Linked DNA regions of Homo sapiens: region 1 is linked to region 2. The links are contacts of gene promoters, found by promoter capture Hi-C in blood cells and fetal thymus (Javierre and others, 2016). All regions are on one chromosome and are shown on one strand. The core of a region is centred on a gene start or on the middle of the fragment in contact, and the rest is flanking DNA. Distances in the headings are between cores, read along the strand shown.

Region 1 (5,255 bases), core at 297-2,796, 66 kb before region 2:
GAGCATTTGCCCTTGAGGTCTGTATTCAGATGTAGCAGGCTCTTTTCTCTTGCTTCTACTGACACAGCCCAGAGAGAAGTAAACGTTAGACTATATACTTACATATACAAGATCTGGTTCCAGAGCCCCGCTCAGCCACTGGCTTGCTCTGTGACTGAGGGCAAGTCATTTAACTTCTCTGAACTTGAGTTTTCTCATCTATATATCTGAAGGGTTGCTATGCAGATTAACTGAGATAATGCATGGAAGTACCCATCCCACAGTGTAGTTTAAAAAAAGTCCCAGTAAATATTCATTCCCTCCTATTAACAATCTCCAGTCTATAAAGGGGTCACTTGGTCACCAGGAAATAGGTAAGAGGCCAAACCAGGCTCAAGGATCATAGAAGAACCAGCAGCCAGTAGGGTTGCATTGGTGCCTAACAATAGCACAAGCACTAGTACAGGTGGTGGGGGATGCTTATTGAAAACTCCTTGACAACTCACAAATAATGAAACTGAGTCTCAGAGAGGTTCAGCAATTTCCCCAAGGCCACACAGGCAAGCAGGGATTTTAAGAAGTGTGTGTGTGTGTGTGTGTGTGTGTGTGTGTGTGTCTGTCTGTCTGTCTACGAGTCTCCCAGATCTGCTTAAAATGACAGATGACTGTTGTTCTGGACTATTGCAGAATCCTACTGGAGCCTGAGGCCACTGAAAAAATCACTAATACCAATCCTGTCTATTTGAAATTTTGTATTAAAATTGTGGACTTTTTGCATTAATTTTGATTTTCAAAAATACTGCATTTGATCCTACATATCTATCTTGATAATTGAATTTTTGGCATCCCCAAGGTGAGCTCTTCCCTCGTCTTCCCCTGGTCCTAACGTACCACTGCTATTACGCCTACAATTCTGGGTGGTCTGGCCGGGGGATTGTGACTCTCAAAAAGGCAGTGCACAACAGCTAGAGGTCACTGCTCACTAAAGGAACAAAAAATCCCCCCCTGTCAATATTGAAAGAGGTCTTCCTGGGAGGGGCCAGGGCCTGTGGCTAATGAACACCATGGTGAAACCTACTGGCAGGCAATAAAGGATCATCCTTCTCTGCAATCAGGCAAGTGCCGAGGCAACCTCATAATAAGCCAATATTGCACGTCTGTTAATATAAAATTCTTCAATCTATAAGTCATCAACATTTCTTAACAAAAAAAAGATCAGAACCTATATATTGTTGATGCAAGTATAAGTTGGTATGGCTTCTTTCTTTAGCAATTTGGCAGTTTCTATTGAAACTAAAAATATGCAAATCCTTTGAAGCAGATAGTTCCTTTTCAGGTATCCATCCTAGAGAAATACTGGCTTGTGTACACAAAGGGGCATTCCAAGCATGTTCATTACAGTTTCAAAACACTATATATGTCTACCAATGGGGAAGTCATTACATAAATTATGGTACCTCCATACTGTGGAGAGCTGTGCAGCAATAAAAAGGCATTAAGTTGACCAAACATGTTGAAATACATCAAAAGTCAGAAAAGAAACAAGTCATAAAGTCAAAGAACAACAGGGCAGAATGGTACCTGCTGTTTGGCCCATTTGTGCCTCAGGACCAAAAGTACACTGAAGACTCAAAGCAAAACTATGTACCTTTATATGGATATAAATGCAAAGAACAGCCTGGAACAATAAAGAAAGGTGGCCCAGTGTGGTTATTCTAGGAAAGTGGAAGGAACTTCCCTTCAACTCTTTGGTTTGATCTAAAAAATATATAAATATATTGTAACGAGAAAATAATATTCATATATCTGTTTTTTAAAGGAAGAAATAATTTTAAAGGAAGAAAGTTAATTGTCTTGGAAGTCCTTTCTGGATATGTTAGAGCATATGGGTGGAAGGGGTACACTCCTGTTGCATAAAAATTCAGGCAGTCTGTGATCTGACTCTCCCAGATTGTCCACCGGAAGACTGAGATAGGCCATCTTTTCTCTTTCCCTGTCTCCAGGAGCAATAAGTCTGTTCTCTCAGGAGGAAGAGGATTAGTCTCTTCCAAGATTTGTTAACTGCAAATGACTGATGAGCTGAGCCACCTTTAAGCATCATTACCTTCACCCAGGTTGTTGCTGCTCTAAAGGTTTTTATTTCTCCACCACACTATGTTGACAATCATTATGATGGTTATTTCGGAATTTTAGCAAGAATGTCAGAATAAGATCAGCTCAGTTGTGGTAACAAAGAAAGGCCCAAAACTCAGTGGTTTAACCATATCAAGATTTATATCTATCGTACAACATCCCCATGTGAGTCAAGTGAATCTCTAGAGCACCTCTCTTCCGGGTGGTGACTCAGGGTCTTGGCTGTTCCTGTCTTACAGCTATACCAGGTCATCGTATAACGTGATCACTGCAGCATGGAAAGAGAAAGCTGGAGGACTACATAGGGGCTGATAGCACTAGGTTTGGAAGTTGCATACATCACTTTCTCCCATGTTCCATTGGTCAGAAATGGTCACATGGTTCTAATCCAACTGCAAGGGAACCTGGGAAAGGTAGGAGAGCCCATGGCCATTTAGTGAGAATTTAATGTCTCTGTCACAATAAGAGGAAATGAAAAATATTAATTAGACACTTCATAAATGCCATTTCTGTTAATGTAGCCAACATGGGAGGCCATTCAGTAGTTCATAGGTTCCTTGAGGGCAGTGACTCTTGTTACTTTTTACCTGCATCCGAGTCCTGTTGATGAAAACAATGACATCTTTGCAGAGAGTCTTCATTTAGTGTTAGCCAAATTGAACTACTACTCTTACTCAAAATCTTTTTTACAACTTCTTTTTGGGGAAATTTTCTTCTCAGCCAGTTTACAATTGCACAAGGAAATCAATTGCATTTTTTGTTGTTCTTTACTTTTTAATTTCCTGTACCTCCAAGTTAGATCTTTGAAAAGACTTTAAAGTAAGACAAACTAGCAATATTGGTCAAGATGAAGTGAGCAAAGGTGCAGATAAATAATATGAATGAAGAATGAGATATCATTACACATATAGCAGAGATGATAAAGATAAGAAAACACTCTCACTCACTTTGTCTCAATGTATTTCTTCCAAGTCCCACCTGTTTTGTTTATTTGTTTGTTTTAACCCAAAGGGCCATTACCTAGCTTGAGTGATTATCTCTTTCTCTACCAGATTTGGCTTGTGGTTATTTCTTAAAACAACAACAACAGCAATATTGTTAAAATATGATATGGCTATGTTTAAAATGGATATATTGAAGACTCTGAAGGTAGTCCCCAAAGAAATATGAAGACTTGATTGTTTGATTATTTGTCATTGGAACATGGCCTCCTTAGAGTCCAGGTTTGAAAGATGACTCTGTTCTTGGAGGCTTAAGGACCCATAGGTTTGTTTAAATAATTACTAGTCCCCATTAATCTTCATCTATGTCTTGAACAACCTTGGATTTAACCCACCTTACTCCCTCTCCTAAGAATGTGGAGTTTTAGAAGCTGGAAAGACAGTTCAAGAGGGACTTAGAGTCCCAGAAAAGATGGTTCTTAGGAAATAGTTTAGAAATATCATTGTTCCAAAGATGAAAAGGCTTGCAGTAAAATCTGAGCCTGGCTGAATACATGTGCCATTTTCCTTTATGCCTTTCTCATGGAGAGAGACCACCAGCTCCTCCTTCTTCCCCTCACAGCTTCATGGCTGTGAAAACTCCATAGCTGCTGTCCCTGTCTCAATACTGTCCTCAGGTGCTTCTACCAGATTAATCTTCCAAAAACTCCTCTTTGATCATGCTCCTCTTGGAGGAAAAACATCTTGGCCTGCAAAAGTGGCCCCACCCTACCTGGCCAACTTTATGTTCACCTGCTTCCTGACACAAGAGTCTCTTCCCTAGGCATGTTCATTCCCTCCACTTTCCATAAACATGCTGTCCTTGTCCTACTGCTTCTTTGCATTTGTTCATGTTACTCAGCAGGCCTGGGATGCAGTGCCAGGTCCACATCATAGGAATGCTTGACTTTACATAATGAATGGGTTCCCGGTTTGTCATTTAAAGCGTACGCGCATGTGTGTAAAGCTAATCCCACTTCCACAATGCTGGGTGTTTAGCTTCAGAAGTTAGTCTTGATTTGTGATTCGTCCTTGATTGGCTGTGAGCCCAATTCTTAGTTTTATATTTTTCTGCCTCTTAGTTGCTGCCAATTTATAAACCAACACTTAAATCCTTCAAGGAAGTTCCTTTAATAAAAGCATCATTTTTGATAGAAAGTGAGGAAGTCACCCCTGCATTTAAAAAATTTGTGGTTAAAAGCTTGGATTATTGCCAACTGGATTTTCTTCAAATGGGGCCTACTTCTATATGTCAAACAACTTCTTTCCAATTTGAGATTCCCAGGGTGCTATGCACTAAAGCCATCTTTAGGGTTTTATGTAGCCACATCCTCAAAGACTTTCCTCCTCACTTGACTTCACTTGTGCAGGCCTGGGCTTCAGCCAATTCATATATATCTGGTATACACCAGAGGGGTGGCCAGGTGAGTCTACTAGGGTTTTGCTTTGTTTTGTTTTGTCTTAATGGGAAAGGCTTATGTGCCTTAACATTTTGGGGCTGATAATGAGCTTTTGGACTAAGACTTCTTAGATAGTGATAAAAAAGGGTTACCTTGTCCTCCTAAGACTTTGTACTGGATGTGGGGAATGGGAACAGTTTGGTGGGAGAAGATGTCATAACTTGATGTGTAAATGACTTAGGAACAAGTTTGGGGAGTGCTAGTGATACTCTGGCCTGGTTCCCATGAAATAAGTTCCACAGTCCTCTGGGGGTGGGAGCTGTGAAAAGAGAGAAGAACACTCTTCGTGGTATCAGTGGCCCAAAGACCACTTGTGACCCAGCATAAAATGGATGGGTTGTGACTATAGCAGAAATGATGGCATGTGACTCAAGGCTTGGCTCTTTTGGAAGGCTAACTCCTGGGATCCAGGCACCATGATGTGAGGAAGCCCAAGCAGCCACATGGAAAGGCCATGTGTAGGTGTTCCTGCTGACATCCACTGCTGAAGTCCCAGTCTACAGCCAGCATTACCTACCAGATACGCTTTAAGATGATTCCACCTGCCAGCCTTCAAGTCAGCTCCAACATGAATCTTTTCGGCTGAGACCCTAGAGACATGAAAAAGAGTCATTTACTCTATGTGTCCTTTAAAAACTTCTGACTTAGAGAGAATCCCTGGACATAACAAAACCATTGGTATTTTTAAAAAGCTATATATACC
Region 2 (5,122 bases), core at 320-2,819:
CCAGAATAAGTCTCTCTTTTCTCTGTTCTTTTTTTTTTCTTTTGCTTACTTTTTTTTAAAAATACAGTAGAAGCCGGTAACTTTTAACGTATAATACTGACCTTTTAATAAGTAAATTAAAACTGGGACCGTATATACACACACATATACATTCCTACACAGTTAAACAGTGCATTACAGGAACCAGAAAGCTAGGTCTCTGTAGCCCAGAAAAAAAAAAAAAAAAAAAAAAAAAAGTTCATTGAAAACCCTCGCTAGAGGGTGGTGGAACTGGTTGGAGGCGGTGCAGGGGGCGTCGGTGGGGATCGATCAAGTGTCCGGGTGCGGGCAGGGGGCCCCCGAGTTCTAGCACGAGCACTTGCACTCGGAAATGATGGGGTACTGGATGGGAATCCAGCCGCAGCGCTGGCCCCCGCGCCGCTGACAGCGCCACCGCAGCACCGTGAGGTGCACGGACTTGGACGGCTTGCACACCATGCCCTCGGGCACGGAGCACGAGCGCTTACTGAAGCAGCTGCCCACCTTCACGTAGCGCGGCCAAAAGCGGCTGCCCAGGTCGTTCCACGCGTACAGCACGGGGCAGAATGTCTGCGACCACAGCCACATCTGTAACTTCCTCCGCAGCTTCTTGCTTAGGCGCTGCTTCTTGCCCTGGGCCAAGCCCTCGGAGAACTCTAGCCCTTTGATCTCGCTCGGCATGGCCCCCGACGGCCGCTGCCGCAGCAGCTGGTCCAGCTCCGCCAGGTCCTCCGCGCCCCCAGCTGCACCCCCGCCCCCGCCGGGCCGGTCCTCGGGGGGCGAGGTGGCCATGAAGCCTGGGTCGTAGTGGCCCCCGAGCAGCGAGCGCAGCAGCGTCTCGTTCAGATCCTTTTCCTTGGGGTCAAAGATAGGGTCTGGGTGTTCGATGAGGTCCACCAGGGGCAGGTTGTCGCTGGGTGCCGGGCGGATGTGGAGATAGTGCTGGCCGCCGGCCGGTGTCGCCCGCAGCCCCAGGACCACCACCAGGGCGTAGAGGGTGACCCCTAGGCTGGGGCAGCGCTCCATGCCTCTGGCGCGCGCCCGGGGCTGCTGCTTCGTCCCGCGTCCCCGGAGGAGAGCACGCCGAGCCCGCGGCGCCGCCGCGCTCCCCCGTCTCTCCGGAGGCGGCTCACCCGAGGCTGGGCAGGCGCAGGGCCGGCAGCATGAGCCGCCGGGAGAGCCCTTCGCGCAGCGCCGGCTCCCACCGGGGCGGAAGAAAGGCACACAAGTTGGCCGCAACTCCTCTCCCGGGTCTACTGGGGAAGGCGGCCGCGGCTGGGCATCCGAAATTACTCCAGGGCGACCGCGGGGCGCGGGAGGCGCCGGCTCCTCGCTGCCTTCCCGGGCCGGCGGCGGCGCAGGGCGCGTGGACGAGCCGCTCTCCCCTCCTCCTCTCGCTGCTCTTCGTCCGGCCGCTCTGTGCAAGCGCCGCTGGCTGAGCTGGTTCTAGGGGCACTTCCCTCCGCCTGCTCCGGGCTCCGCGGCCGGCTCTGCCCGGCGGACTCCAGCGGCGGCGGCGGCGGCGGCGTCCGCGCACGTTGGCACCGGTTTGTCTGTCTCGCAGGGTCCAAGCCTTTAAATTTCCTGCACTTTCAGCTCCATCACCATGGAAACCACTGACTCTCTCGGCGTTGCCCCCTCCCCCTTCTTCCCCCCAAACAACAACCCCACCCCCCACTTCTCCACCCCCGAGGAGCTGGAGCTGCACAGGCTCCGGGGGAAGCCGCCTGTACTCGCCGCGGAGGCGGCGGCGGCGGCTTCGGCAGCGCCCAGGGCTGTGCCCCGCCGGACCCAGATGCCCCGGGAAGCCGACAGTCCGGCTGCCCGCCGGAGCTCACAGGCGGCGGCGGCGGCGGCGGCAGCGGCGGTGGCGGCGGCGGTGGCGCTTGGCAGGTCTCCGCGCAATTTTCTCTCTCCCCCACCACCCACCCCCCTTCTCCTCCTCCTGCAAAATGCACCGCCCCCCTCCTTTCTCCTGGAGCAATGCAACTGGGGCTCTAGGCGCCCCGCCAGGGCCAGTCCTGGGGAAAGCTCGCGGCGGCGCTGGAGCCGGGCTGGAGGGTGCAGAGCCGGTGTTTGGGGAGGGGGGGCGGTGCTTGAGGTGGGGCTGGAGGGTTTCTCACTAGCTGGGTGCTTTGCACTGGGAGGGGAGCAGCGGGGAAGTGCTGGGGGCTCGTTTCTCGGTGCATGCAGTTCGGAGCAAGAAATTTCTCCATGTGCATGGAGCGTTTTCCCCGAGCGCGTCTTCTTCTCTCCCGGGCTCTTGCTCTAAGTCCCCTCCCCCCAACACACATATATACACACACACACACACACACACACACAGCCCCTACCCCACCCCCCTTTGCACCAGGGAGTCCGAGAGCCGCAGCGTTGCGCAGCGTGATGTAATTCTTAGGAAGCACTCCTGTCTGTCTGCCCCTCGGGCCCACGAGGGGGTTCCGCTCCTCACCATCCTCCTCCTCCTTGGCCGGGTCCTGCACCCTGAGTGGCCTAGCCTCAGGGGCGCGACTGGCTCGCCTGCGGCTCCCCTAGCCCGCCCGGCTCCGCGCGGCCGCCGCTCGGCTCCCTGGGGGCGGCGCGCCCTCTGCTGGCCCGCTATGAGCCCTGCACCTGGCGCTGGCGGGGGCGGCCGTGCGAGGTGGGTCGGCCGCTGCCCGCTCTGCCCAGTTCAGCTTCTGCTTCTGTGTCCCTGTCACTTTGTGTGTGTCTGCGTCTGCTGACTGGTCCGTTTTGGTTCTGGCTATTTTCCCGAAGGTCTCCAGGCCCCCAGTGTAAACAAACTTCCTGAGATTCCTTCTCGGTCCCCTCAAATTTCACAAGAATGCGTGCAGCACCTTCTGCCTCAGGTAAATCGGTCTCTGGTCTCAGTGGGTGCGAGTGGGGACCAGAAACTTGAAAGGTGAGCTGACAGCAGAGGCACCTGAGTCTTGCCCGGGGTCCACCCTGATATAACTCGGACAAGTCATTTTTCTCACTTTTCGCATTAGTGACGTAACTATTAATAGATTTCTCTTCCAGCCCTACCTTTCTGTGATTTTAAATAAACCTCCACGATGCTTTCTCTTGTTCAGAAGCAGTTTCTCTTTGATGGGAGATGGGTACTGAAGGGACACCTCCGGTTAATTTCCCCTTGGACGAGGAACTCAATCTCAGCTTTAAAATGCAAACTCAGTTTTCTTTGTGGTGAATGTGATTGGAATCTGGAAAAAGCTGGAGAAGAGAGACTTGGAGTGGATGACTCAAGTATTTGCCAGTCTTCCATGGAGTGGGAGTTAAGAGGTCCCATTGTGACAACCTAAATCGCTTAACTTTCTTTCCCCAAAGATCTGGTTTTTCCTTTCAACCTGCCCCACCCCAACTCCCAAAGTTTATCATCTGTCTAAGGAAGAAAACACTTTGTTGCATACTACAGTCTTTCTGCAAAACCTCTATTAAAAGGGGTGGGCAGTTTCCGCTGAAAGCGTTTCCCTCAATTTTAAAGTCTAGACAACTAGAATTAGACTATCAAGGGACTGCTCAAAAGGAGATCTTGCTTTGATGGATACTGGAGTTAACAACAACCCATTGGTTGTTTGAATTGGGCTGACTTTGAAATAATGTGTGATTAGAACCTGGTACAGGCCGGGCACGGTGGCTCATGCCTGTAATACCAGCACTTTGGGAGGCTGAGGCAGGCGGATCACTTGAGGTCAGGAGTTGGAAACCAGCCTGCCCAACATGCTGAAACCCTGTCTCTACTAAAAATACAAAAAAAAAAAAAAAAAAAAAAAATTAGCTGGGCGTGGTGGCAGGCTCCTGTAATCCCAAGTACTTGGGAGGCCGAGGCACGAGAATCACTTGAACCTGGGAGGCAAAGGTTGCAGTGAGTTGAGATTGCACCACTGTACTCCAGCCTGAATAACAGAGTGAGACTCTGTTCCCACCTCCCCAACTCCTCCCCCTCCAAAAAAAGAACCTAGCACATAGTAGGCTCCTAAGCATACCTCTTTCTTTTTTATGTGCTTTATGGGGATTCAGCACTAGTTTGTTTCCTTATGAAGATTACATGTTCCAGAGCAATTTTGTCACTGATGTGAATTAACTAAGAAAATTATTTAGTGGAGTTCAAGGGCTAAACTCTAGCTCAGCCCTCCTGAGATGGTAGGTTCCAATTAATGACATTATATCATGCTGGTTTCTGTTCTTTTAATCCCCCTCTTCTCTCCTTCAAATCACCTATTTTTGCTTGAAAACCAACCCAGATCCTTTATTTAGTTGGGCTGAGCAGATTTGACTGAACAGCAAAAAAGGTCCCTCAGGAACCAGAAACAAATCATGCTTGAGAACAGATTGGGTGACCTGTTTATGGAGTATCTACTGGGTGAAGACCATCAGGAAAAATACAAAGAAGAAAAAATTCATAGTCAGTCTCCATCCTGCAAGACTTTTGTAGTACAGTTAGGGGAGATATGACAACCACAAGAAGAAATAGTAAAAGGACATCAGAAAAATTTATAAATTCCCATAACAGTGTGGACTAGTTTTTTATAACCTTTTCTTTTTAAAATCCATGTCCCCTTTTGATAGATATAACAATATCATGCTCTTCTTTGAATGTTGTTTAAAGTTTTTAAAATACATTATTATAACCAAAAAGAAGCCCAAGCAATTATGTTAGCTATACTGTTTTCAAACCATATCTACCCCTCTTCAATGTGAAGTTCTGAAATGCCACATTTGGGAAGCTTGCAACTCCTAACTCTGTGCCACACTGGAGTAGCCCATGCGCTTAGGTACTGAGTGAACCTGGGGATGTTGGTATCAGAGACTAGGAAGTACTAAGACCTTAATGGTAGAGCTGAATTTTAGCTGAGCTTCATGAAGAAGGATGTATTTATCTGAGTATGGAGAGGAAGAGATTTGAGAGATAGGATATACATCTACATGAAGAAGGGAACCACACTTGTATGAGGGACAGCCAGAAAATCTGGGGATATGAGAGGTGGAAGAGGAAATGTCCCAGACAGGGAAGCACCACGACTTTTGGACCAGGTGGATTTAAGTTGGAATTCTGGCTGTGCCCCTCACCGGCTGTGTTACCTTTTTAAAACAGTCATCTTAA

What was found. Contacts are between HindIII fragments. The CHiCAGO score rates a contact against its expected background, and 5 or more counts as called.
Region 1: a fragment that was not itself captured here is called in contact with the fragment with the promoter of NOG in region 2 in 1 of 17 cell types (naive CD4 T cells); the score reaches 5.2 in naive CD4 T cells.

What each region holds. Positions count from the first base shown.
Region 1 is chr17:56,655,938-56,661,192 of GRCh38, reverse strand. No RefSeq gene overlaps it. Among named protein-coding and RNA genes, the nearest start is that of NOG, 65 kb to the right of the region's middle. The HindIII fragment of the contact is 5,498 bases long and covers 1-4,295 here.
Region 2 is chr17:56,590,146-56,595,267 of GRCh38, reverse strand. NOG (noggin) reads right to left here and starts at 1,569. Exons shown (of 1, transcript NM_005450.6): 1 at 1-1,569. The coding sequence starts at 1,044. The coding sequence ends at 346. RefSeq lists a silencer at 2,507-2,716. The HindIII fragment of the contact is 13,259 bases long and covers 1-4,747 here.